Regions from separate parts of the Homo sapiens genome. Here all the other regions are linked to region 2. The links are contacts of gene promoters, found by promoter capture Hi-C in blood cells and fetal thymus (Javierre and others, 2016). All regions are on one chromosome and are shown on one strand. The core of a region is centred on a gene start or on the middle of the fragment in contact, and the rest is flanking DNA. Distances in the headings are between cores, read along the strand shown.

Evidence for each region. Contacts are between HindIII fragments. The CHiCAGO score rates a contact against its expected background, and 5 or more counts as called.
Region 1: the fragment with the promoter of CAMK1 here is called in contact with the fragment with the promoter of SEC13 in region 2 in 2 of 17 cell types (monocytes and total CD4 T cells); the score reaches 6.2 in monocytes.
Region 3: a contact is called between the fragment with the promoter of TADA3 here and the fragment with the promoter of SEC13 in region 2, in 6 of 17 cell types (activated CD4 T cells, naive CD8 T cells, total CD4 T cells and 3 more). The highest score is 7.5, in activated CD4 T cells.
Region 4: a contact is called between the fragment with the promoter of MTMR14 here and the fragment with the promoter of SEC13 in region 2, in 1 of 17 cell types (monocytes). The highest score is 5.5, in monocytes.
Region 5: a contact is called between the fragment with the promoter of CPNE9 here and the fragment with the promoter of SEC13 in region 2, in 1 of 17 cell types (monocytes). The highest score is 5.5, in monocytes.
Region 6: a contact is called between the fragment with the promoter of THUMPD3 here and the fragment with the promoter of SEC13 in region 2, in 10 of 17 cell types (activated CD4 T cells, total CD8 T cells, total B cells and 7 more). The highest score is 14.9, in activated CD4 T cells.

What each region holds. Positions count from the first base shown.
Region 1 is chr3:9,767,780-9,772,303 of GRCh38, forward strand. It overlaps CAMK1 (calcium/calmodulin dependent protein kinase I), which reads right to left and starts at 2,168. Exons shown (of 12, transcript NM_003656.5): 1 at 2,053-2,168; 2 at 1-2. It also overlaps a transcript of OGG1 not described here. RefSeq lists a silencer at 1,939-2,118. The HindIII fragment of the contact is 10,493 bases long and covers 820-4,524 here.
Region 2 is chr3:10,318,935-10,323,068 of GRCh38, forward strand. It overlaps SEC13 (SEC13 homolog, nuclear pore and COPII component), which reads right to left and starts at 2,178. Exons shown (of 9, transcript NM_183352.3): 1 at 2,116-2,178. The coding sequence starts at 2,118. RefSeq lists enhancers at 1,844-2,143, 1,891-2,486 and a silencer at 2,334-2,413. The HindIII fragment of the contact is 12,357 bases long and covers 1-4,134 here.
Region 3 is chr3:9,789,991-9,794,229 of GRCh38, forward strand. It overlaps TADA3 (transcriptional adaptor 3), which reads right to left and starts at 2,483. Exons shown (of 9, transcript NM_006354.5): 1 at 2,226-2,483; 2 at 1,270-1,503. The coding sequence starts at 1,476. It overlaps ARPC4-TTLL3 (ARPC4-TTLL3 readthrough), which reads left to right and starts at 2,558. Exons shown (of 12, transcript NM_001198793.1): 1 at 2,558-3,134. The coding sequence starts at 3,132. It overlaps ARPC4 (actin related protein 2/3 complex subunit 4), which reads left to right and starts at 3,092. Exons shown (of 6, transcript NM_005718.5): 1 at 3,092-3,134. The coding sequence starts at 3,132. It also overlaps a transcript of OGG1 not described here. RefSeq lists enhancers at 810-1,310, 2,415-2,941, 2,868-2,967, 2,942-3,468, 3,668-3,757 and silencers at 2,298-2,387, 2,448-2,737. The HindIII fragment of the contact is 10,858 bases long and covers 1,063-4,239 here.
Region 4 is chr3:9,646,322-9,650,799 of GRCh38, forward strand. MTMR14 (myotubularin related protein 14) reads left to right here and starts at 3,184. Exons shown (of 19, transcript NM_001077525.3): 1 at 3,184-3,421. The coding sequence starts at 3,263. RefSeq lists enhancers at 2,779-3,008, 2,816-3,711, 2,998-3,167 and silencers at 3,039-3,148, 3,249-3,348. The HindIII fragment of the contact is 16,951 bases long and covers 1-4,478 here.
Region 5 is chr3:9,701,662-9,706,060 of GRCh38, forward strand. It overlaps CPNE9 (copine family member 9), which reads left to right and starts at 2,172. Exons shown (of 21, transcript NM_153635.3): 1 at 2,172-2,403; 2 at 2,926-2,966; 3 at 3,088-3,134; 4 at 3,230-3,333; 5 at 3,803-3,839; 6 at 4,057-4,059; 7 at 4,326-4,399. The coding sequence starts at 2,336. It overlaps MTMR14 (myotubularin related protein 14), which reads left to right. Exons shown (of 19, transcript NM_001077525.3): 19 at 129-732. The coding sequence ends at 312. RefSeq lists an enhancer at 1,811-2,721. The HindIII fragment of the contact is 18,760 bases long and covers 1,455-4,399 here.
Region 6 is chr3:9,361,001-9,365,596 of GRCh38, forward strand. THUMPD3 (THUMP domain 3 tRNA guanosine methyltransferase) reads left to right here and starts at 2,054. Exons shown (of 10, transcript NM_001114092.2): 1 at 2,054-2,127; 2 at 4,016-4,320. The coding sequence starts at 4,069. It also overlaps a transcript of SRGAP3 not described here. RefSeq lists enhancers at 1,784-1,993, 2,214-2,273, 2,344-2,423, 2,444-2,503. The HindIII fragment of the contact is 4,632 bases long and covers 1-2,642 here.

The DNA of each region.
Region 1 (4,524 bases), core at 918-3,417, 550 kb before region 2:
TCCTGTAAGGAGAATGGAAGGAGGAGACTCAGCAGAGCCCAGCCCTCTGTCTGGGAATTTACTGCAGGCCCCATTCAGTCATTCAACCTGCATTTATTCATCCTTGATTCATCCATTTGACAAAATCATTCAACAAACATTCATTTGTTTATTCAACATTCAGCAAATTCTCATGCCTAGAGAAAAACCTTTCACAGTGGCAGCAAAATTCTTTATTTAACAAAGTCATGCATTCATTCATTCATTTATTCTAGTTCTCTTCCCAGTTTTCCCCCTATCCAAATCCAAGCACCTAGGGAAACCCTGACTTCTGGCAGTACAACAGATAAACCCCCAGAGCAGCTGGTAGAAGCCTGGAGGATCCCCCTGTCCCCAGAACCAGTGATGTCCCCGCCCCACCCTGGGGATTGCTGGGGTGTCTCCTTTCCCTCCTCCTTCCCCCGACTCCCCGGCCTCTCCGAAATCAGGTTTCCAGCAGCCTGGGCTTCCAGCAACATCTCAGCCACATTTTTAAATAGCTCTTTCTGCACTGTTACCACAGCAACAACAGCCACAGCTGGAGCTCCCCAGACCTCTCCCTCCTGACTCCCCATCTGGGTCCCGGGAGCATGAGAAATGGTCCTGCTCACTCTGTCCCTTCCTGGCCCCATCTAACCCTATCCAGCCTGGCCCTTCCTCTGCTGAGGTCTGTCTCATCCAGCAGGAGAGGGTGGGAGTTCTCTCCCATTTATCAGATGAAGAATGGGGAGACTGAGGTTGGAGTTAGGTAGAGGCTGGCTCCAGAGGCCCTAATGACACCTGGCCTGGGGCCCCCAGCTAAGCTTGCTGAGGGCAAAGGCCATCGAATGGCCTTGGCTGGTACTTCCAATATGAAGCCAGAATGGGCCCCATTCAGAGAACACAGCCTCCCAACCCATCCACAGATGAGGCCAAAACAGAGCCCAGCATGCTTTGTGACCTCAGGGAGAGCACTTTCCTTCTCTCTTTTTCTCTAAGGGAGAATGAGGAGAAGGTGCCCTGACTAGGGCCTCTGGTGTGAGATTCCACTCCTGGAACAGGACCTTTTTCCCAGGGGACCCTGCCCACCCATCCAGGGGCAGAATCTTCTAGGAAAGGAGACTCGAGTGTAAGCTCTAGAGGCAGAGTCTGAAACCCACATGGAGGCCTACCAAATACAACCCTCACAGATCCACACACATCCCTGTAGCAGACATGCCACACCAAGCCCCCTCCACAGCCCTGAACTCAAACACCTGCCTCCCAGATCCAGTACGCCTTGTATCCACATCCCGTGACACCTGATCATACATGTACTCCCAGACATCAGCACACATGTCCACACCACACAGTGCCCCAGACAGCCCTGCACCCGAACACCTGCCTGTCCATCCAAACATCCCTCACCCAGCTCCCTCTTACACCCCAAAACACACATCCACCCGCACCCACACAAGATGACACCCAGACACACACACACACACCCTCATATACCAGACGTACCCTACACCCTCCAGCTCCTCTACCCCATCCCCTGGAAGCTCCTGTATTCCAAACCAAACCCCAAGTCCTTACACACCTAACTCCAAACATCCTCAGTACACAATTGTACACCCCCTCCTAACTCTGACTTAAGACCCTGAGAGCCAAATACCAGCACACAAAACACGTGGACACCCCTCTGGAACAAAAAACACACAGATTCCCAGATCCTCCACCCATGTCTGACCCACACGCCTGTCCTAAGACAGTACACTCCGCAAGCCCCCCCACCCCATGGATACCTCCAAATGCCCACGCCCTTCCAGTCAGGCCCAGCTGAAGGCGCTCACACAGGCCCCCTTCTCTATTACCCACTCAGTGTCCCATAGGCCCGCCTGGCACCTGCTGGGCCTGGGACAGAGGTGGAGAAAGGCCCAGCCCTGCCCCTCAGGGTCCAGCCCGCCCGGGAGAGTGCCCAGTGGCCACTCCTTGGGAAAGGATACCCAGAGGCTAGGGGCTCCCACCGCCCCCACGCAGCGCCCAGGGGTGCAGGGATGGGGGGCCCGGCTGTACCTGCGGCTGCCCCGCCGCGGGGCTGGCTGGGAGGCCCGCGGTGGTTGGCGCCGAGCTGTGGCCGCGGTCCTCACCGCTGCGTGCCTGGGCCACCCGCCCGCGCTCTTGCTGGAGCTGGGGCTCGGCTCGGCTCGGCGGCTCTCTCCGCCCGCCTGCGGCTCTGATGTCAGTGGAGGTGGAGCCTGCGGCGGAGGGACCCGGGATTGGGAGGCGAGGCACCGCTCCAAGGCTGGGGAAGGGGCACGGGTGGAGGCCATCTCCCTGCTTCTGGTCAGAGATCTCCTGCTGGACGCTTCCCGCCCTTGGTCTTAAGCGGGGTCCATTTCACAGAGGGGACAACTGAGGCCCGGAGAGATGATTTTCAAATCAGCGGGTGGTCGGAAGCAAAGCAGGATTCGAACCCCGTCTGTCTGAAGCTAGAGGCCGGCCAAACTCACCCTGTGGCCTGGTGGATTTTCTTTCAGACCAGTTCTGCGACCTCCCTTAGGGCTCTGTCTCCCTTCTCCGTGCCCTGAAGGGAAACAGGCCCTGGAACTGCACGGGAGTCTGGTGGGGGATGGGGGAGTGAGGGAGTGGGGAAGGACCGGGCAAGACTAGGCAATGAAGAGAGTGGAGGTGGTCGCAGGGTGTGGGCCCCACTTGACAGGTGGGAAGACTGAGGCCCCGGTTCCTCTGCAAGATGGAGCTGAGGCTTCAGCCCCAGACACTTGCTCCTCAGAGCGGGTGGTGGTGCCTAGAGGTATTGGGGGCAGAGGGAATTGGGGAGGAGGAAGTTAAATCGGGATCCTGAAGGAAACAGGCCAAAAAGGACCGAGGTGTCACGTGACTGGCGGGGCTCCAGAGTTTGATGGCTGGGGTCCAGGTTAGGGGAGAGAGCCTGCAACTAGGACGGCAGGCAAGAGGCCAAAGGTCGGTTTGCTCAAGGCCTTCCTTGGGAAGAAATTTGGTGCCGAGTGGAAAGAGGGGGCGGGGGGAGCAACTCGCAGGAATTGGGGATGGGGCTGAACTGGGGGCAGCCGGAGGAGGCACGTTGCTTGGGACCCCACTCCACCTCCAAGGGCCTCCAAGTGCCACTCCCTACTCCTGAATTCTTGCATGTTCCAGCTGGTGATGGGGAGAGAACAGTGCTTATGCCCAGCTCATTTCCTTTTTCTCTTTCTTTCTTTCTTTTTTCTTTCTTTCTCTTCTTCTTTTTTTCTTTTTCTTTTTTTTTTAAGACAGGGTCTTGCTCTGTCACCCAGGCTGGAGTGCAATGGCATGATCACGGCCCACTGCAGCCTCAAACTCCTGGGCTCAAGTCATCTTCCTACCTCAGCCTCCCATGTAGATGGGACTACAGGTGCGTGCCACCACACCTGGCTTTTTTATTTTTTGTAGAGATGGGGATCTCACTATATTGCCCAGGCTGGTCTCAAACTCCTGGGCTCAAGCAATCCTCCCCAATCAGCTTCCCAAGGTTCTGGAATTACAGGCATGAGCCACTGCACCTGGCCAATTTATTATGCCCATCTTACAGATGAGAGAGGAAGATAGCTGAGGTTCCTGGAAAGGCTTTGGAGTCTAACTGATCCTGGTCATGCTTTACCTCTCCGAACCTCAGTTTCTTACTCGGGAACATGGGAATATTGAAGATTGACTCAGAGTTCTGAGAATTCTATGATATAATGATATGAAGTGCCTAGAACACTATTCAAAACATGAGAGCTAGACTCAGTGTAAACTGAGACTCAGAGAGAGGACTTGATTTGGCCAGGGATGAGGGGTTAAGGGATCCATCTTCCAAATCTCAGTATCTCAGACTCCTTAGTTCATGGAAAAATACATTTCCTGCTCAGGGCTGAGCCCCCACTCTCCCCTATACCCACCAAGCACACCCACTGAGCTAGGGGTTCTTTTACCACAAATTCCTGTTCATCTTGATGACAACACCCCCTGGGTGATAAGATGACCTCTGTCCTTTCGAGGACTTGTACAACTTCTTTTTTTTTTTTTTTTTTTTTTTTTTGAGACAGTCTCCCTCTGTTGCCCAGGCTGGAGTGCAATGGTGCCATCTCGCCTCACTGCAACCTCCGCCTCCTGGGTTCAAGCAATTCTCCTGCCTCAGCCTCCCAAGTATCTGGGACTACAGGCGTGAACCAACACGCCCAACTAATTTTTGTATTTTTAGTAGAGATGGGGGTTTCACCATGTTGGTCAGGCTGGTCTCGAACTCCTGACCTCAGGTGATCCACCTGCCTCAGCCTCCCAAAGTGCTGGAATTACAGGCATGAGCTACCGCGCCCAGCTGACTTGTACAGCTTCTATGGTGTGCTTTACATTTTTCCTGCTTTTGAGCATTTCTGAGAGGCCTCGTGTTTTCTTTTCTTTAACAAACACATTATCTTTACTTTCTTAGTATTTCTATTGAACAAGTGATACATGGTCATTGCAGGAAAATTCCATAATGTATTGAAAACACACACAGACTAACTG
Region 2 (4,134 bases), core at 928-3,427:
GAGCCATCTGCAGTTTCAAATCCCCTCAAATCATCCAGCACAGTGCTTTGCAAATAGAAGGAACTCAGCGACTATTTGCTGAATGAATAAGTAAATGAACAAAAGCTGTTATTTTTTTTCTTTGCTCAACCACTCTTCTCTTAAATTCTTGGGATAGAAAAGAGGACTTAAAAGAAGTTTCAGTGTGGAACAGACATTTCTTACCATTTTCCCCATTTCATCTTTTCCAGCACAAGCCCTGTAGGTATAAAGTTTGACTTGTGATTTCAGAAAGGCAGACAGTGGAAGAGGATGGCTGCAAAGCAGTTCAAGAGGTACACACCAAGTAAGCACAGGTTCTCTCATCAGATTCTAGACTCTCTAAAAACCAGGTCCCCGAAGTCTGCAAAGGCAAGTAAGGACAATAAGGAGTTTCCTCCATGTGCCGAGCTGTATAGGTTACAAAGTGCACAGGAAGGCGGGGAGGGCAGGGTACCAAGGGCACAGTCAATCAGAGACCTGCGACAGACTAAGGAAATGAAGAAGCCCAGAGAAGAGAAAGCACTTGCCAAAGTCACAGAGCTAGTTCAAGGCAGACCTGGGAAAAGAGCCCCATCCCCTAACCTTCTAATGCTGAGTCCACAAAACTTCACTCCACCAGGCTGCCTGTCTAGAATGTAAAGCAGTTGTTACACTGAGTTCTGTAAAGCTGCGGTTAAGTAGGTTCACGAAGAAAGTTTACTGAGAGGTAGTTTCAACCAGGTTACCAAAGGACCTTAGAAATAATCAGCATTTAATTCTAACCACTCTCACCCACCAGTCAGGGTTGATGAACCACACTTCTGAATGAGAGAGAGAGAGAGAGAGAGAGAGAGAGAGAGAAGGCGGGGGGGGGGGGGGGGGAGGAAAGAGGGAGGGGGAGAGAAAAGGACGGAAGGAAGGAGGAAGGGCGGGAGAGAAAGGGAGAGGGAGAGGAAGGGGGGAGGAAGAGGGAGCGGGGAGAGAGAGAGAGAAGAGAGGGAGGGGGAGAGAGAGAAAGGGAGAGGGAGAGGAAGGGGGGAGGGAGAGGGAGTGGGGAGAGAGGGAGGGTGGGGAGAGAGAGAGAGAGAGAGAGAACTTCTTAGAGTACTTCTTCCCAGGGACCTGGTATTATCTGGTCCCTGTTAACACCTGCACTCAAAATAATTCACCTCTTTGAGATCAGATAATGAGTTAAAAATTCATTTAGGATGAGCTGAATGTCAGAGCATAAAAGCCTCAACTCTAACCTGCAGTGGAAGAGCCAGAGGTGAGTGATTTACACCTAACCCTCTGCAGAACAAGAACACAGTGTTCTGATTTCTAGGTTCCTGCAGGTTCCCTCAAACCTGCTGCTGAGACACACCCATGTTTCTAAAAGAATGCATGTACTAGATATTCCAGGCTCAGCCCAGATACTTCCATTCTTTAGTTCTCCTTCAGTCATTCATTCACTCAAGGAGTAAGTGTGGAGTGAATGTACACTGCAGATGCCACAGAGACTTAAAAAACCCTGAGCCCCTGCCTTCGGAGGGTCGTTCAGGCCATCTTTACGTTTCCCGAGGTGCCCATCCTACCTGGGGGCCCTACCCCGAGCAACAGTTCAATCATCTCTGCTGGGAGCTGCAGTAGGCGGCAGAAAGGAATGGTTAGGAGGGTTCAAATCTCGGCTCTACTACCACTTAAGCAGCTGTGCAAGAGGCTCCACGTCTCCGAACCTCAAGTGTCCTCATCTGTAAAGTGTTGAGAAGAATAGCACCTTCTTCACAAGGCTGTTAGCAGGCGGAGATTACGAACAATGCTGAGGGCTCGGTATACAGTAGCTCCTCTGCTGTTCCTCGTTTTGTTTTCAATTGTTGACCGAAAAGAAGGAAGGGAGACTGGCAGGAGACGCAGGAGCGGCGCGCCCCGCAAAGTCAGGGAGGTTCCTCGGCCTCACCTCTGGACTCCCCTCGGAATGGTCCGCAAGGACGGGGCCAGAGCCCCCCAAATCTCTAAGCGGTGGAGGGGAGCTGAACGGCTCCAGCTTGGGATTTGGGACTCAGGACGGCCGAGGAACCCGTGAAGGCCGCGACCGTGGCCTTCACCCTGCTAGGCCTCCTCAGTACCAACACTCACCATGATTGCGGCGGTGGCTGCTCCAGGTCTCGGACGTGGCAGCTCCCGGCGGCGCCTCGGAACAGCTCACTTCCGGCGCCGGGCCCGACGGGCCGTGGCGTAGGAGCCTCCGGGCAGCAACGCGCTCGGCTCGCACAGCAGTTCCGCGCCTTCCAGAGGGCGCGCCCCGCCCTCCCGTGGCCCAGCCCCTATCCTCCAGTGACGTGCGAGACCAGAGGGCTGGGGCTCTGGTTGCCGCAGTTACCCTGACCCGGAGGGCTTTGGAATCTGAAGCTCTGGTGGGTCTACTCTCCCGACCAAGTCTGCCCTTTTCCTGAGATCCATAAATGAAAGAAAGGATTAATATAACTATCGGCCGGGCGCGGTGGCTCATGCCTGTAATCCCAGAACTTTGGGAGGCTGAGCTGGGGGGTGGATCACCTGAGGTCAGGAGTTCGAGACCAGCCTGGCCAACATGGTGAAACCCCGTCTCTACCAAAAATACAAAAATTAGCCGGGCATAGTGGCGCGCGCCTGTAGTCCCAGCTACAGGCTGAGGCAGGAGAATCGCTGGAACCCGGGAGGTGGAGGTTACAGTGAGCCGTGACTGCACCATTGCACTCCAGCCTGGGCAACAGAGAGACACTCTTGTAAAAAAGAAAAAAATCTATCTATCTATCTATCTATCTATCTATCTATCTATCTATCTATCTATCATCTATCTATCTGCAGCTTCACCCGCCTCACTACGGCTCTGGGTGCGACTGGTCTTATGATGAATGTTGTAGGATGAGTGACATCTTAGGAGTAAGTAGACTGTCCTAGTGCTTCCTTGTTGTAGTCTCCCTCTCAGTACCCAAGGACTGGGACCAGGGCAGAGGAGGCCAGGGAATGCCCCTCGCCAGAGGCTGGGACCTCTGGCCCTGCCATCCCTAACCCCTATATAGGACTGCCCCTTCCAAACCGATCCCCTGGGGTCCTGAGTAAGTCCCATCAAGGAGACCCCCCTAGGCAATGAAGGATCTCAGCCAGGCTCCTGCAGCTAGAGCCCCAGACCTAATCCTCAGGGTCCCCAACCCCAGGTCTCTGGCTTCACAAGGTAGGGCAGCTGAAGGCTCCCCACAAGCGCAGTGAGAATGCCACACTGGAGGACAGAGCCTGGGCTCCCCGCCTCAGCCACATATGGTCTAGCCCTGGGCCCCTTGTGACATTAAGGAGGCAGATGAGCTGGGGGAGGCCTTGGCTCCCCTTGGGCAAGTCACAGTCCTTCAGTTTCCTCTGCTGAAACTGGGAGTAAGGACCCTAGCTGGAGATGGTCACTGCTTGAAGGAAGATGTTAAGGCTCAGAGAATGTGATAGACCCAAACTGTCAAGGAGCTTTGGAGGGGAGGCCAGGGGAGTAGGGTGTTAGAATTAAGGGCCAGGCCTCTGGGCAACTCTTCTACCCCACTGCAGCTTTCAAGATTTTTTATTGCCCTCTAGTGGAGAAATTGTTGCAGGGGTGTGAGGGGGTGGTGGTTAGGTTAGAGCAGGGAACAAAGGCAGGTTTCAGGGGATCTCTTGGATCTCCTGTTGTTTTTTTTGTTTTTTTTTTTTTGGAGATGGACTCTAGCTCTGTTGCCCAGGCTGGAGTCCAGTGGTATGATCTTGGCTCACTGCAACCTCTACCTCCCGGGTTCAAGCAATTCTCCTGCCTCAGCCTCCTGAGTAGCTGGGATTACAGGCATGTGCCACCATGCCTGGCTAATTTTTGTAGTTTTAGTAGAGATGGGGTTTCACCATGTTGGCCAGGCTGGTCTCAAACTCCTGACCTCTGGTGATCTACTCTCCTCGGCCTCTCAAAGTGCTGGGATTACAGGTGTGAGCCGCTGCGTCCTGCCAGATCTCCTGTTCTTCAAGGAACAGGCTCTGGCCTTGGCTCTATAGCTGCACCACTGACTTTCTAGGTGATAAGGCCAAGTCACTTTTCTCTGAGCCTCACTTTCTTTGAGTGGAAAATGAGGACAAGGGCATATTAGATGTAAATATAATGCATCAGGC
Region 3 (4,239 bases), core at 1,233-3,732, 530 kb before region 2:
GGGGAGAAGGGAAAACACAGAATATCTCTTTCCTCTAGTGAATAAATTAGGATCTAGAATCTACAGAGGCTCCTGGGTCTTTCCCCATCCTCTTTTTACCTAGTAAACTCTTACTCATCCTTCAAAATTCAGCTCATTTTCTGTGCCTGGCCTCCTAGAACTTTATTCATATACTTCTCATAATCTCATTCACTTGTTCATCTATACTGATTCACTTCTGTATCACCCATGCCAGTCACATACTGTTTAACAGAAGAGTCCTCTCAGCAAACCTTCACTTCGATGTCACCACTACTGAGATGCCTTCTCTCAATCAGTTACCCAGGTTCTTAGATGCTAAAATACAACTTGAGTCATAGCCTTCCTCAAGGAGGGTCCATGGATTCCCAGGGACAAGTTAATTCCATTCATCCTTTTAGGTCCAGTTGGCACCTCCTTCCTCCACAAGTCTCTGGCACTTCACAGCTCCAACGTGCACCCAATCGTGTTGTTTGGTCACACTGGAATGACCATCACACCTTGTCTCTTCAACTAGACCATAAGCTACTGAGGACCAGAAAGCCCACCTTAACCATCTCTATTTTGCAGAATACAGCATAGCGCCTGGCACACAAGGCTCAAGGCATCTTTATGCAGTGAATAAAGTCATCAGAGTAGCAAATAAATAACATCTGAAGTACTTACTTAGTGTCTGGCATTGGGCTGAGTTTTTGCAAAAAATTCTCTTTTAATCCTCACAAAAGCACTAAGGTAGGTCCTATTATTCACCCCACTTTGCAGATAGGGAAACTGACACTCAGAGATATGAGGCAACTTTCTCAAAGTCACATAGCTAGGAAACAGCAATGCTAGCAAGCGCTTATGCCAGGATTCAAATCCAGGTTTCCCCATTCCAGTTCCCTAGGACTGCTAACCACAACATCACATCACCTGGTATGTACTTGACTTTCTCACTTTCCTAGTTGCCAAGCTCCCTGACAGCCATAACTGTCCTAATTACCTTTCTCTAATGACTAGCATAGGACCCAGAACACAATGGGGGATGAGTGGGGTGCCAATAAAAGCTTACTGAATTAGAAATCTTGCAATTTAAGAGGATCATGCATATTCTTGTGTATTTTTTGTGTCATGCAAACCCAGTTTGCGTCTCTCTCCCTCTCCCCACAAACCCCTGTACCCCAAGTCTCAGCATATGGGGCTAACTCAATGACCCATCCCATAACTTGTTGCAGTCCATCTCTGGTGCTGGCCCCTCTCTGGGGTTATCACCTGGGTTTCGGCCTCAAGCACACGCAGGCGCCGGCTGGCAGAAGACAGCAGGGTCTCCAGCTCCAGCTGCAGGGTGTCCAGCTCCTCGATGCCGATGCCATCATCCTCAGAGCGTGCCAGCACTGCCGTGTAGCGGGGACAGACCTTCAGGTGATCCACAGACTTGAAGTCGTGGAACTGCAAGGGGCAGTCTTTCAACTCACTCATGGCCCAGGATATGGGGATCCTGTGGAGCTGGAGAGGACAGGGCCATTGATGGGAGACAAAGTGGTCTGAGAAAAGCCCAAGGGCTTCTTACCTCCAGGGACAGCCTCAAGGAAGCCCAGCTTCAGTCCCTTACTGACAAAATTGATGGCACAGTTCCTACTCACAGGGCACTTAACTGGGTACCAAGCTAGGTGCAGAGCACTTTATCAGTTTATCTCACTGAATTTCTCACTCAGCACCATGAACAAGGACCATTGTGATCTCGTTTTTACAGAGAAAGAAACTGAGACTCTGTAAGGGTGGGTATGTGCCTATGCTTCCAAGATGCAATTTGAACCCCGCTAGTCTTGAGTCTGCACCCTGATCACCATGCTATACTGCTATGCCTTGCCTCGCCTTTCTGATGCTCTTTCCTTCCCTTCTATTTCTCTTGGGTTCTGCTAAGACTTTGAGTTCCAAGCACCCCATTCTTACCATGTTCTCTGGGACTCTTGGCCTCTTTTCTTACCCTATTCCACCTTTCTCCCTTCTCTAGTCACTAACAGTGGTTTAGAACGTGGGCTGGTAAGCCAGACAGACCTGGGTTCAAGCCCAGGCTTTACCATTCTCTACTTATATGCCCCTGAACATGTTATTTGACCTTTTTCAGTCTCAGTTTTTCCATCTGTAAAATGGGGACAAAAGAAGTCTCGGTCTGTTTCCCCATTAAAAGTCTGAATCTGAAAAATGGGGATAACAATAGTACCTACCTCCCTGGGATGTTCTGAGGATTAAGAGATGATGCCCGTCAAGAGCCCAGTTCAGTGTCTGGCACAGAAGTGGGACTGTTTAATGGCTGGCCCCGCCCGGGGGTCGCCCAAATGTCCCGCCTTCAGAGTCCTCGTTCTCTAGGGACACCCTAGTGCGACCCCCGCCCCCTCTACCTCCTCGCTGCGGCCTCCTACGGCCCCAGGGGCCGCGGGAGGGGGCGGGGAGTTCCGGTCGATGTGAGCAACCGCCCCGGAACTGGCTATGGGCGGGCCCCTTGCAGTTGACGCGGGGGCGGGGAGTCAGCGAGGGCGAGCCTACTGGAGTTTGCCGGGGGTGGGAAGAAGGTGGGCCTCGAGCAAAGCCGCTAGAGGTGGGGTGCGGGTGGTCGGCCTCAGGCGAGCCCCGGGGCACAGCCCGGGGCGGGAGGCGGAGCTTGGCGGCCGAGATCTCCGCGCTGCAGTTAGCCCCGCCGAGCGCCAGGAGCTGCGGGTAGGAGGGGCGAGAGAAAGGATGGGGGTACAGAACCGGAAGAAACGAAGGGCTCGTCCGCTTCGGCTTGTCCTAATTTGGTGCCCAATCTGAAGCTGGGCTGTACCATTGCATACCTGGGGGAGGCTGTGGCAAAGGTGACAAGAAGGCCGAAGGCACAAAGGGAAGCTGCACCCATTCCTGGAGGAGCTTAAATAGTGACTCGAGTGCAAGAATTTAAAAATACCGAGACAGCCCTAGGTGGAAAACTTCCGGAAGGCCCAAGCGTTCGTAAGGGCTCTCTACCCCGCTCGGAGCATAGATGGTACCGTCCGGAAGTCCGGGCGGAGACCGTAGCTGCGCTTCTCGCGAAAGGGCAGGCATCGCGGGGCTGGCCACTTCCGTACTTCCGCTTTCCGGCCCAGCCAGCGCCCGCGATGGTGAGAGAGCCGGGCCCCCGGCCAGGGACCCCCGGCTGTTCGGCCTCAGGGCAGTGGGTCGGTGGGAGATGTGGCTTTGCCGCAGGGGCGCGGGGCCGAGGGATGTCCGGGGGTTGTGGGGACACGATGAGGGTGGGAAAAAGAGACGGGGCGGGGGCCCGAGGTGAGGAAGGGGCGAGTGGGGGTACTCCCTGGTATGAAGTGGGCCTTGTGGCTTCACGGTCAGCCTTCGAAGCAGGTAGGGGCTTTTCCTGAGCCCTGTAGGAACCCGGAAGTGGGGTCTCCTAGGCTCTTTGGAGCATTTCGAGGGTACGTAGTCGGCCTCTTAGCCTCTGAGGCATGAAGCAAGTCCACCTGCCTATCCACAGTGGAACTTCACGACATACGCCCTTTGTCCTCTTCTGCCTTCCTGACCCTACAGTTGCTTAAGGCAGGCGGCCACACTTCCTTATCCCATTCTTGGTACCTCCAGCCCTGCTTCCACCCCATTGGAGGATCTCTCGTGTTGCTTCCATTCAGGCCCTTCCTGGTCAGAACTGAACTGTGTCAGCCTTAGTGTATGTTAGCTGTGATACTGCTCATCCCTCCCTTCCTGGAAGTCCTCCCTTTTTCATACATGTGGGCCTTTTTCATACATGTGGGCCTTTTTCATACGTGTGGGCATTCCTGGGAGTTGTGACTTTGGATGACCATCTCCCTCTTCGTCACACCTTCCCTGGTGATACCGATCTAGTCTCCTGGCTTCGATAACTTTCTTCATTCTGATGACTCCTAATCTGGCTTCTCAGCTCTCTTTCAAGGTTTGCCTGGATATCTTGAAGAGACCTTGAAATTAGACCTCTAGTTCAAAACTCATATTCTATTCTAAATTTGTTCTTCCTCCTGGGTTCCCTATCCTGGCAAACTTTTGTGACCTCATGTCTCTGCTAAAAATCTGTATTTTTTTTTTCTAGTGGGGCACATGCCTCTTGATTTTTAAAAGTTCAAGTTTATTGAGGTATTACATGAGACTACATCTGTTTTATTCATGAAAGGACAGGCGTCACGGAGCCAGTCACCCTTTTTAGGTTTACTTTCTATAACTGTTGACAAAGGCCAGGCGTGG
Region 4 (4,478 bases), core at 1,934-4,433, 670 kb before region 2:
GGCGCCCGCCACCACACCCAGCTGTTTTTTTGTATTTTTTTTTTTTTAGTAGAGATGGTGTTTCACCATGTTAGCCAGGATGGTCTTGATCTCCTGACCTCGTGATCCGCCCGCCTCGGCCTTCCAAAGTGCTGGGATTACAAGCGTGAGCCACCACGCCCGGCCGGATTGGTCATTTCAAAGTAACTTTCCCTGTAGGGCAGGAACAAGGAAACAGAACAATAGAAAAATAACGGATTGGGCCAGACGCCGTGGCTCATGCCTGTAATCCTACCACTTTGGGAGGCTGAGGTGGGTGGATCATCTGAGGTCAGGAGTTTGAGACCAGTCTGGTCAACATGGCGAAACCCCGTCTCTGCTAAAAATACAAAAAAATTAGCCGGGTGTGTTGGCGCACACCTGTAATCCCAGCTACTCTGGAAACTGAGACAGGAGAATTGCTCGAACCCGGGAGGTAGAGGTTACAGTGAGCCGAGATGGCACCACTGCACCACTGCACTCCAGCCTGGGTGACAGAACAGCGGGAACTCGTCTCAAAAAAAAAGAAGAAGAAGAAGAAGAAAAATAATGGATTGATTAACATCAGGTTACTTTTGTTGTAAGGATTAAGGGCAGAGGAAAGTTCATTATCATGCTTATTGAAAGTGGCCTGTTTGGGGAATATCTATTATCTCTCTGGATTTCTCTGAAGGTCAGATAATTTAGTTTCAGCTTGGTAAGATGTAAGTTTAGTAGGAATTACTCCATTTTGGTTCTTAGTCTTGTTTGTTAGGATCTAGTGCGGGTGCTTTGTCCAAAATAATGGCCTATAATTTTTTTCTTTTTTTTTTTTTTTTTTAAGGCAGAGTCTCAAGAGTCTCGCTCTGTCACCCAGACTGGAGTACAGTTTCATGATCACAGCTCATTGCAGCCTCAACCTCCCTGGCTCAAGGGATCCTCTCCCACCTCAGCCTCCCAAGTAGCCTCTCAATGTGCGCCACCACACCTGGTTGATTTTCTTGTAGAGATGGGGGTCTCACCGTGTTGCCCAGGCTCGTCTCGAACTCCTGGGCTCAGGTAATCAGTTTACCTTGGCCTTCCAAAGTGCTGGGATTACAGGCATGAGCCACCATGCCCGGCCTGTAATTTTTCTTTAACACCATATAATCCAGTCATTTCATTCCTTGGTGTTTAAGACAAATGCGTATATAGATTTGTCAGAAAATATCTAGTAGGCCAGGAGTAGTGGCTCAAACCTGTAATCCCAGCACTTTGGGTGGCAGACGTGGGAGGATTGCTTGAGCCCAGGAGTTTGAGACTCGCCTGGACAACATGGTGAGACTCGGTATCTACAAAAAAATTTAAAAAGTAGCTGGGTGTGGTGGCACATGCCTGTAGTCACAGCTACTTGGGAGGCTGAGGCAGGAGGATTGCTTGAGGCCAGTAGTTGGAGGCTGCAGTGAGCCACGATCATGCCACTGTACTCCAGCTTAGGCAACAAGAGTGAAACCGTTTCTAAAAAAAAAAAAAAAAAAAAAATTAAATTAAATTAAAAACCAATCTACCGTATTAAAACTCTAGAAGCCAGGATAGTGATTAACTGGGGGTGGGAGGAGTTGGGGGGGCAGGGTGGTGGGTGGTTGTTGGTGAGTGGGTAGTGACTGAAAGTGGTCAGGAGGAGGGTTCCGGGGCGCTGGTGTACATATCATACTTCTATTAAAAGTTTAACAAAAACGAATTACTTTCATTCAGACTGGGTATTAGACCACATTAAGGAATATTGTTAATTTTCTTAGGCATGTTAATAGCCTTATATTTTTTATGTATTTTTTTTTTGAAGTACAAATCTGTTGTGATAAATGCTTAAGTATTCACAGCTGAAATAATGTGATGTCTGGGATTTGCTTTAAAATAATTCCCTGGATGGGAAGGGACTGCTTAAACAGGATAGATAAGCAGATGTTGATTATTGTTCAAAACCAGTTAATGGGTACATGAGGGTTCATTATACTATTGTCTCCACTTTTGCGAATGTCTGAAATATTCTAATAATAATAATAATGAGAGGCTTCTCATCACAGAATTTCAAGGCAGTCGCTTCACCTCCCTGACTCCCAGTTTCTACCTCAATAAAATAGGGCTGATGATATAATGCACTGTACTCACAGGGATGTTGTGAGCAGCAGGGGGAGAAAGGGTTTTATGAAATGTTGTGTTTTTGTTTTTGTTTTAGAGACGGAGTCTCATTCTGTCACCCAGGCTGGAGTGCAGTGGCGCGATCTCGGCTCACTCTCCGCCTCCCGGGTTCAAGCAATTCTCCTGCCTCAGCCTCCCGAGTAGCTGGGATTACAGGCACCTGCCACCACGCGCGGCTAATTTTTGTATTTTTAGTAGAGACGGGGTTTCACTGCGTTGATCAGGCTGGTCTCGAATGCCTCACTTCATAATCCGCCTGCCTCGGCCTACCAAAGTGCTGGGATTACAGGCGTGAGACACCGCGGCCGGCTGAAATGTTTTAATATTGGTAACCACTGCCATTATGGTTTCTAGTACTAATTTGTTGCCTCCAAGCGTTCTCTCCTCCTCGCCCTGTAATTTTTTTTTTTTCTTAAGACAGAGTATTGCTCTGTCACCCAGGCTGGAGTGTAGTGGTTCGATTTCGGCTCATTGCAACCTCAGCCTCATGGGTTCAAGCGATTCTCCTGCCTCAGCCTCCCAAGTAGTTGGGATTACAGGTGGGTGTCACCATGCCCGGCTAATTTTTTTATTTTTAGTAGAGATGCGGTTTCACCATTTTGGCAGCCTGGTCTCGAACTCTTGGCCTCAAGTGATCCGCCCGCCTCGGCCCCCCAAAGTGCTGGGATGACAGGTGTGAGCCACCACGCTCGGCTTCCCTGTAATTGTTGATTCCACTTTTCCTCTGGTTCTTTTCAATGGTTCCTTCCTGCTACCCCCCTCCCCCGGCAGCCCAATGGTTGAGCCCGGCTTCCCCGGGGGAAACCCCTTGGGGCGGATCACGCGGTATCAGCCAGTGGCCTCCCTGGTGGATAGAAGGATCGCTCTGCGCCGGGGGCGGGCCAGTAATCGTAGGCGGGGCGCGGGTCCAGAGCTCCGATTGGCCAGAGTCGGAGTAAACATCCGGCGGGACGGGGCGGGGCCGGAAGTGGAAGTGGAAGTAGAAGGCGGTGGCTGAGGCGGTTCCGGAGGTTCTAGTGTCGGAGTTGGGTGCAGGCAGGTGCCATGGGCCCGCTTGAGGCACACTGAGGGGACGCGGGGCTGGGCCATGGCCGGCGCTCGGGCCGCCGCCGCCGCTGCCTCGGCGGGGTCCTCGGCCTCTTCAGGCAACCAGCCGCCTCAGGAGCTGGGGCTTGGGGAGCTGCTGGAGGAGTTCTCCCGGACTCAGTACCGGGCCAAGGATGGCAGCGGGACCGGCGGCTCTAAGGTGAGATTGGAGGTGCGATGAGCTGGGGAAGGCTCCTAACTTGGGAAGTTACAGAGGAAAGGCTGAGGCCAGGGGTCAGAAAAAGGTAGGAGTGGTACCTCGCCGCTGAGGAAGAGGAGAGAGAGAGAGGAGTTCTCCAGGGTCTGTATCCGGAGTATAAGAGTCGGTCTTGACAACCATAAAAGGAGGAACTGGGGTCAGAATGAGCCCAGCAAAGAGGTCCTTCTTGTTTGAGAAGGGGTCTGGAGGTGAGAGATCAAGCTGAGGGGCCAGGTTCAAAGATCAGAGAGGAGGACCTAAGGAAGGTCTATTCCCTGCTTCAGGTGCCGTAGGATGAGTTGTGTCAGGGAAAAAGCCCCAAGAAAAAGCTAAGAAAAATAGGGAGACGATTCCTCGGGGTCAGAGGTCAGAATGGAGCCAGGAGGTGAACCCAGTGTGCTGCCCCCTTATAAGGTCTCAGCATGACTTAGGCCCATCCCTTTCCTTCCCCTATAGAGCAGGAAGACAACCCACACTCCCTTTCAGTTCCTTTATCTAAAGCAGGTCTCCGTTCCTCTTTTTGCTCCCTTTGGGATTTCCACCCAGTCGTCTTATCGCCAGACCTGGAGGGCTTCCTGTCAGCTCAGGCCATCCCCACCCTAAGCACTGGCTGGCAGTGCGGTGGGAATCTTGCCGACCCTGCCATCTCATTCCCCCACGTGGTTTTGGCAGCTTTAGCACCAAGTTTTCCAGTGGAATTCTGTTCCATCCTGCACCACAGAACTCTGATTTGACCTCAGAGATTACCGTGAGTTGCTATTCTGTAGTTGGCATCTTGTAGTCTCTGAAGTAACCCAGGGAAGACTTCAGTAAGGATTGGACTTCCTCACTCTCCAAATGGCCAAGTAATTTTTCCAAGTATAGTCTGGGGACCACCTGTTTAATGATCATCTGGGGTACTTTTAAAATTTGTGCTTATGGGATACTTTGTGAAAACAGAGATTCCTTAGTCCCACCCAGTCCTACCAAGTCAGAATTTCTGGGGGTGGGATCCTGGAATTTGCTTTTTTTTTTTTTT
Region 5 (4,399 bases), core at 922-3,421, 620 kb before region 2:
TAGGACAGACACTGGCCTTGTACAGTCAGAAGAAGCACAAGGACAGGTGGTATGGAGGGAGGGAGGATGAGGATACTGGGTCCTGTCCCAGGGTAATGTCTTTGTTCTTTCTCTTGACCTCCCCATAGGCTTGCAGCCCTGAGTGATCGAGAGACTCGGCTGCAGGAGGTGCGCTCAGCCTTCTTGGCTGCGTACAGCAGCACAGTGGGGCTTCGGGCAGTAGCCCCCAGTCCTTCCGGTGCCATCGGGGGCCTGCTGGAGCAATTTGCCCGTGGTGTTGGACTCCGGAGCATCAGCAGCAATGCCTTGTGAAGAAGCCAGCCCATGACATTTTCCTGCTCCTCTCTCAGCTGAGCCCTTAGCAGAGAATCAAAGCCATGCCTGGCCGAAGGGGTACTTCCAGGTCAGGGGAAATTTCAGTCCCCCATCTCCATCATGAACATGGCAGCCCCAAAGCTGAGCAAGGCCAAAGACAGGGTTTTCCAACCCCCAGCCTCTTGACTGGTGACCACCACCCCTTCTTGTCACTGTCTCCCACCCACCCCATCTTTGCTGGGATTCCCATCAACTCTCAGAACTGTGTGGGGTTTCCCTGGGGCCTTGTGGAAGCCATGACTTCACAAAGACCCTACCTGTCAGTTCTTGTTTCTGGGGAGGAGGGATCACCTGCACTGAGAATGAGGCAGTTTGACACAGATCACAAAATAAAATCAAAGTCTTTTTGAATAGCCACTCTTGTGTCATCATTTGGTTATTGTCTTTGTGGAGCTACTAGGAAGGTTCTCATTGTCCTTCCTTGTGCTGGACAAGGGGTTTTTATGTGGAGGGCAGGTGAAACAGGAAGAGAACTGGCGACAGGTATACCTCTCCACTCATGAGCCATGGTAGTCCCTGCAGTGGGGACAACACTCAAGACTGTTGAGAGTAGTGGTTCTCGGGCCTAAGCAGGTCCTAGTCACCTAGAGAGCCTGATGAGCTGTGCACATTCCCAGGGCTGCCTGAGCTTTAGCCTTAGGGTTGCTAAGGAAGTTGCCTGGGAATTAGGAGCTGGAGGATCTTCATTTTTTTCAGATTTTTTGAGATGGAGTCTCACTGTTACCCAAGCTGGAGTGCAATGGCACAATCTTGGCTCACTGCAACCCCTGCCTCCTGGGTTCAAGCGATCCTCCTGCCTCAGTCTCCTGAGTAGCTACGTGAACGTGCCACCATCCCCAGCTAATTTTTGTATTTAGTAGAGATGGGGTTTCACCATGTTGGCCAGGCCAGTCTCAAACTCCTGAGCTCAAGTGATCTGCCTGCCTTGGCCTCCTAAAGTGCTGGGATTACAGGCATGAGCCACCGTACCTGACCAGGATCTTCATCTTTAACAAGTTCTGTAGGCAGCAGGGTCCTGGTACGGGTGACCTGCATCCCCTACCTTGAGCCCTGCCTATGGAGGAAGGACTGGCTTCTGAAGCTTTGGAGATAGCAATTGGTGTGCATGTGTGGTGGGTGAGAGCCTGGCTGACCACCACCCTCTTCTACAGTGTAACCTACAGTAGATTGCGTCATGAGAGTGTGTCCGCATCTGTAACGCCATGAAAGTCGTGAGGGTTAAAGGCATGGGCAGACAGCTTTGCACGGTGCTCAACAGCCACCATTTACTGTCATCATTGTGAATACCCAGAGGACAAATCATAAATACCAGTGAATGTTTACTGAGCACTTGCTGTGTGCTAAGTGTTTTCCTTGGGTTATCTCAGTAAAATTTTACAGCACCTAAAGTAGCTGCTGTTAAAGGCCTTTCTGACGGCCTTTCACGGTTGAGCCACAGAGATGTTGAGTAACTTGTCCAAGGTCACACAGCTACTAAGAGATGTACTTTTCCTATTCAGAGACCTAGGCAGGCTGGGAGTGGGAAAAGACAGAAACACTAAGGGAGTGGCTCAGTAAGAGGCAACAATTCCAGTGCCCACCAGGTGCCCCAAATGTTTCAGCATCATGGACAACTCTAGGGGGCTTGGGTTTCCACCCCAGAGACTTGCGCAGGGCAGACTCTACCAAGGTGTGGGTTGGAGTTGGGAGTCGGGGTGAGGTTCCCCGCTGGCTCCAGGCTGCTCCAATGGGGCGGGGGCCGCCCGCAGGGCCGGGCGGGGCTGTGCTGCCATCTGGAGCCGCTGCCGCCGGCGGCCACTGTCAGGGCGCGAGCGGCTGGAGCGCACGCAGGGCTGGAGCGAGTGCAGCCGCCGCCGCCGCCGACACCGCGGCACATGGGCCGGCCCCGCCGCTGCCGTCGCCCCTAGCCCCAGCAGCCCTGGTCTCGCAGCCTCCTGCGGCTCTGGTCGCCCGACCAGCCATGTCTCTCGGCGGAGCCTCCGAGCGCAGCGTCCCGGCCACCAAGATTGAAATTACCGTGTCCTGCCGGTGAGCGGGCCGCGCTGGGGAGGGCTTAGGCACTGGCACTGCCCCAGCCCCAGCCAGCCGCGGGGCTCAGCCTGGGCAGGGGCTAGACCCCCGGGGAGAGGCGAAATTGGCTGGAAAATCACAGCTGATGACAGGGCGAGTAGCTGGTGGGATCGAGAAGCGGGGGGTCTTGGGCAGCCCCACCCCGAAAAAAGGGCTCAGCCTGCGGGTTCAGGGGGTGGGTCGCAGATATCCGGTAGGAGCTCGGCCCCAGGAGGACAAAGTTCTGGGGCGAGCCCTCTTTCCTGGGCCCTTGGAGACAGTGTGGGTGCGTTCGCGTCCAGTCCGCAGAGCCATGGTTCCTGGACAGCGATTTCCGGTGCTGTCCAGAGTGCTGACAGAGCGGACCCCGGCTGGGGGTAGCCATGGGGGACAGAGGTTCGATGCGGGCCCCATGCCTCTCCTCAGTGCCCGGCTCAGAGCCGACTCGAGGCGGGCGGACTCCAGGATGATCCACTCTGTCTGTCTGTTGCTTTTCTCTAGGAACCTGCTAGACCTTGATACCTTCTCCAAGTCCGACCCCAGTAGGCGGCTCCAGGACCGGGAGGGGGAACTTGGGGTCTGGGCGCGACTCAGGGGCGGGTGGAGTCGGGGCCAGGGGTGGGAGCCGACCTGACGTCCTTCCCTCCCCGCCCCCACCTGCAGTGGTGGTGCTTTACACGCAGAGCCGGGCCAGCCAGGAGTGGCGGGAGGTGAGTCCCAGAGCCCCCTCCCGGCCCAGGGCGTCGCCCGGGAATTCCCCTGCCCGTCTGCACGTCCCACGCTGACCCTCCACCCCCCTACCCAGTTCGGACGGACCGAGGTGATTGATAACACGCTGAACCCAGACTTCGTGCGCAAATTCGTCCTCGACTATTTCTTTGAGGAAAAGCAAAATCTGCGCTTCGATGTGTGAGGCCCCGCCTGGAATTCTGGCTTGGCCCGCCCCCGACCTGGATCCGCCCGGAATTCTGGCTGGCCCCACCCCCGCCTCGCCTCCGGCCTGGTTCTTCTCGCAGGCCTCCCTCCCATTCTGAATGGCCCCCTCTAGCCTGAGCCCTGCCCTTTTATGAGATGCGGTCCAGTTCCGTCCCCCGCTCTGGCCCCGCCCACAACTCTGCTCCTATCGCAGCTCCACCTCAGGCCCGACCCCTTCCACACAACCCTGCCCCCAGCAGCCCCTGACTTGGCCTCGGCCCAGGCTTGACCGTCTGACTACTCAGCCCACCCTGACTCCTCCCCAAAAGGAGACCAAAGCTGAATTCGGGTCCACGGCCGCCCATCCCTCCACCCAAAATTTTCACCAAGACTCGGTGCCCGACCCCTTTCCACCCTCTCCCCCACCCAGCCCCACCCCACACCGGTTCCACTCTTTTCCCAGGTACAACGTGGACTCCAAAACCAACATCTCCAAACCGGTGAGCAAACGTTTCCTCGAGGGTTGGCGGAGCGCACAGGAGGCACTTAGATGTGTTCAACGACTCTCAGAACTCCTCCCAACCCTCGACCCAGACCCCATCTTCTTCAGGCCCCCAACCCACCCTCCTGGTCCCTCTCCTCCTGCCTGAGTGTCCTGCCTGTGCCCCCTACTCACTGTTCCTCTTCCTTCTTGGCTGCCACTGCTGGGACCTGCAGAAGGTGAGGCTGAATGGGGCTGGGCAGAGGTTGGGGGTGGGGGTGGTATTGTGGAGAACAGGCTTGGACTGATGACCCACTACAAGGCAGAGATTGCTCGCAGACCCCTTCTTTCACACCCCCTCCATTAAAGCCCATGTAGGGCCGTGGCTCTTGCACCACTCATTCGCCTGGGAACTGCCCTGGTCCTGTGCAGGAGCATCACTGGGGCTAGGCTGGGACTCAGCACTCAAGAGCTTCTGGTCTTGCTGACTCCTTGTCCTGCATAGGATTTCCTGGGACAAGCGTTCCTGGCCCTGGGAGAGGTGATTGGAGGCCAGGGCAGCCGAGTAGAGCGAACCCT
Region 6 (4,596 bases), core at 804-3,303, 960 kb before region 2:
AATTTGCAATTCCCTAATGACTAATGATGTTCAGCATCTTTTCATGTGCTTATTGGCCATTTGTCCATCTTTTGGAGAAATATCTATTCAAGCCCTTTACATATTTTTCATTTTATTTTTGAGACAAGGTCTCACTCTGTCACCTGGGCTGAAGTGCAGTGATGTGATCATAACTCATTACAGCCTCAACCTCCCCAGCTCAAGCTATTCTCCTGTCTCAGCCTCCCGAGTAGCTGGGACTACAGGTGAGTGTCACCATGCCTAGCTAATTTTTGTCATTTTTTTGTAGCGACAGAGTTTTGCCATGTTGCCAGAGCTAGTCTCAAACTCTGAGCTCAAGCGAGCCACTCACCTCAGCCTCCCAAAGCGCTGGGACTACAGGCATGAACCACCACTCCCAGCCCCTTTGCACATTTATAAATTGTGTTCTTTTTGGTTTTGTTTTGTTTTAAATTCGGTTTATCTTTTTGTTGTTGGGTTCCTTTCACAATAAGTTAACTTTTGTCAACTGAAAAATAAAAATAAAATTCTATGCCCCCCAACTGACTGAACAGGCCCTCTCTTGGCCAAGGAGACCCTAGAAAAAACTTGGAAGCTGAGTTCCTACTCATGACAGGATGGGAAGTCGGACACACCTCTTTATAACCCCTCCCTCTATAATCGCCATTAGATTTTCTTTCCTAAGGGTTAAACAGAAACCAGCCCTTTTGAAAGACTCACTCCACCAGCCTGATGCTGACCCTCCCATTTGCAGTTTCAATAGAACAACCGACTAGCATTCCTTCCTGATAAGAGATCACCCACCATCCAGGGAGTGGTTCTGGCCAGTCGACAGAGGACGTGCAGTGAGGGTTTTCACATCCCCTGCTTCACCTTTTGAAGTCAAGCGGTAGAAAACTCTACCCTTGGATCATGCTAAGGCCACCATTTTTTAAACATGGGATCCACAGAGAGGCATGAAGCTCAACTGCACATGCACAAATTGCTCCTTTCATAAATATTCGTGACCCCTCTTACAGTTTATTTAACATGTATATTTGGCCACTGTGTTTAGCATAAATCCCTGTCTTATTCTTCCAACCCTGGAAGTGCCTGTTTTTGGCTTCTGACTGGAAGCTAGGCTTCCCAGTCTGTCAAAATGGCTACCATGCAGGTTCAACTCTTTTTTTTTTTTTTTTTTTTTTTTTTTGAGATGATGTCTTGCTCCCAGACTGGAGTGCAGTGGCACAATCTTGGCTCTCTGCAACCTCTGCCTCCTGGGTAAGCAACTCTTCTGCTTCATCTTCCCAAGTAGCTAGGACTACAGGTGCAGGCCACCACATCCAGCTAACTTTTGTATTTTTAGTAGAGATGGAGTTTCACCATGTTGGCCAGCCTGGCCTCAAACTCCTGACCTCAAGTGATCCACCCGCCTCAGCCTCCCAAAGTGCTGGGATTACAGGCATGAGCCACTGTGCCCGGCCAGGTTCAACCCTTTATGAGAAATAAAGTTCATCTGATTGGGCACAGTGGCTCATGCCTGTAATCCCAGCACTTTAGGAGGGCTAGACAGAAGAATCACTTGAACCCAGATGTTCGAGACCAGCTTAGGCAACATAGTGAGCCCCACTATTTCTATTTTTTTTAAACTAAAGAAAAATATGAAGTAAACAGTGCTAAAATAGTGATGGCAATACAGAAATCAGGAACTAGTGGCATGACATTTTGAGAAAGATATTTAAATAAGCTGGAGAGACTCGGTGTCTCCAGCTTTAAAACAGAAATCAGTCTCTGCCACTTCATAGGTGCTAGAACAAAAGAGACTTGTTCCAAATGAGATGACGCATGTGAAGCGCTTACCCAGTGCTCGGCAAGGGGAAGCACTCTCTAAACGTTAGCAAATACCATGGTAGGACACAAGGCCCCTGACTCTCCGCTTTCAGCTTACTGAAGATCCTCAAAACCAACAGCACACAGCTTCCAGCGCATGCTCCTTTCCCCAAGACCTTGTGGGGGAACCCGCCGCCAGCGCGGAGCCACCGTGACTCGTAGCCTGACTTCCGTTTCCGGGGGCGGCTTCCGGCGGCGTGACCTGACCGCAAGAGGCCAATGGAGTGTGGGAGCTGAAAGGGTCTTCGCTGGCGGCCGGTAACTGGCGGCGGTTGGGAACGGCCGAGTGTGGCTCTTCTGGTGTTTCAGCTTGGGGAGAGAGGGGTGGCCTTCCTCTTGCAGTTGAGGCCGGCGCCGAGCCGGACTTCAGGCGGATCTCGTGGCGGAGCCCATCTTGCTCCCTCTCCCAGGCCTTTACCCGCTCCCTAGGATTCCCGGGCCCTGTAGGTGGGAGTTGGGAGACGTGAGTTCTCTTTCATTCTGCGCCTCTCATTGGCTCTCTGACCTTGTGCGGAACGCGTCCTTTAGCTGACCTCAGCTGCATTTTTTAGAAGATGGAGATTGTATTCACAGTGACTGTCAGCTTTTTAACGGCGGGAACTGACGTAGTGTTAAACACTGTCGTGTATCGCTGGCACAGCACAAGGACATTATAGGTATTCTGTACTCAATTAAGTTATTTTGAGTCACAGACCTTTTGAAAATCTCGTGTAAGCTATGGCCCCTCCACCTCTCTAATACTTCCCCCGGCCCCCACCCCAAGCACACACAAAAGCTTATGCATAGGAAATTTGTTTTACTATTTCGGATTACTTCCAAGATCTCTCTCCTGATGCCCATCTATGGATCCCAGAGTCTGGCAAGTAGTAGGCGTTTGAACATTTGTAATCATTAGATAGTAAGTATTCAGTTAACCATTTTTATTTTTAATTTTTTCTTTTTTTTTTTTTTTTTTTTTGAGACAGGGCCTCACTGTGTCACCCAGGCTGGAGTGCAGTCCTCCCACCTCAGCCTCCCAAGTAGCTGGACTCCAGGCGCCCACCACCACGCCCAGCTATTTTTTGTGTTTTTGGTAGAGATGAGATTTTGCCATCTTACGCAGATTGGTCTCGAACTCTTGGCCTCAAGCAATCTACTCACCTCAGCTCCCTAAAGTGCTGGGATTACAGGCATGAGCCAGTGTGCCCAGCCCAGTTAATCATTTTTAAATGCATGAAATGCTATTTCACAGGAGGGAAGAAGATAGATAGCCTATTAATAAGTTTTAATTATTGGCCTAACCAGGTACTACTCTCACTTGTCTCCTAACGACTCTAGGAAAGAGGTATTACTAATTACTTAATTACATTTGAAGGTTTGGGAGAATTAATTTGCCATAAGTCATTCAACCTATGATGGTGGAGGCAAGAATTCAAACCTGTATCTATCTGAAACTCCAAAAGCCCCATATTATTATTATTATTATTATTTATTTTATTTATTTATTTATTTTTTTGAGACAGAGTCTTGTTCTGTTACCCCAGCCGGAGTGCAGTGGCATGATCTCAGCTCACTGCAATCTCCACCTCCCGGATTCAAGCAATTCTCCTCCCTCAGCCTCCCAAGTAGCTGGGATTACAGGCTCCCACCACCACACCTGGCTAATGTTTGTATTTTTAGTAGAGACGGGGTTTCACCATGTGGGCCAGGCTGGTCTTGAACTCCTGACCTCAGGCAATCTGCCCGCCTCGGCCTCCCAAAGTGCTGGGATTACAGGTGTGAGCCACCACGCCCAGCCAAGCCCTATATTCTTAACTAACCATGTTCTTAACATCTAGATGCAGAAATGGATTTGAATGTGATCTGCAGTTTCTGTCGTAGTTATGAAATGGCTTTTGTCAACATGGGTTACCCCAAAGCAAACATTGCATGCTATGGAAATACTTCTTGTCTCTTTTTCTCCCATGGTATCTGTATTGCTTCTTTAATAATAACATCATGTTTTACAGCCTGCACTCTGTGCCCATGTTTATTCAACCCTTTTTACTTTGGTGACTGTTTATCAGATGTGTTGCCTTGTTCTTCCTGCCCTCCAGAGCCCATGTTTTTAATTATAACTGAAATATGAGATGATAATATTTGGGCTTTATTTCTTTTTCTTTTAAAGGACAGTACTGCTTTTAAAGAGACAGTGTTAGGGATCTTGGAAGCACAGCCAACATGTGTGACATTGAAGAAGCCACTAACCAACTCCTAGATGTGAACCTTCATGAGAACCAGAAGTCTGTACAAGTGACAGAAAGTGACCTCGGAAGTGAATCTGAGCTTCTAGTCACTATTGGAGCCACTGTACCTACTGGCTTTGAGCAAACAGCTGCAGATGAAGTCAGAGAGAAACTTGGGTCATCATGCAAAATCAGCAGAGACCGTGGCAAGATATATTTTGTCATTTCAGTGGAAAGTCTGGCACAGGTTTGAATGGAGCAATATTTAAAATAGTTTTCTAAGTTGATCATTTTATGGTTACTTTTCATTTTATAGACCCTTCTGGAATCCTTTCTGATTTTCATTGCTCTGCCCCAAATCAGGTGATTTTAAAGTTACTGCATTTTCTATTGAGTACTGATTTGTAATTTTGACTGTAGTTTCAGTATCCCTTAGGACCAAAAGTGTTTCAGATTTTTGGAGGGGGGTGGGGGGAGTTTTGGAATATTTGCATTATACTTGCCAGTTGAGCATTTCTTTTTT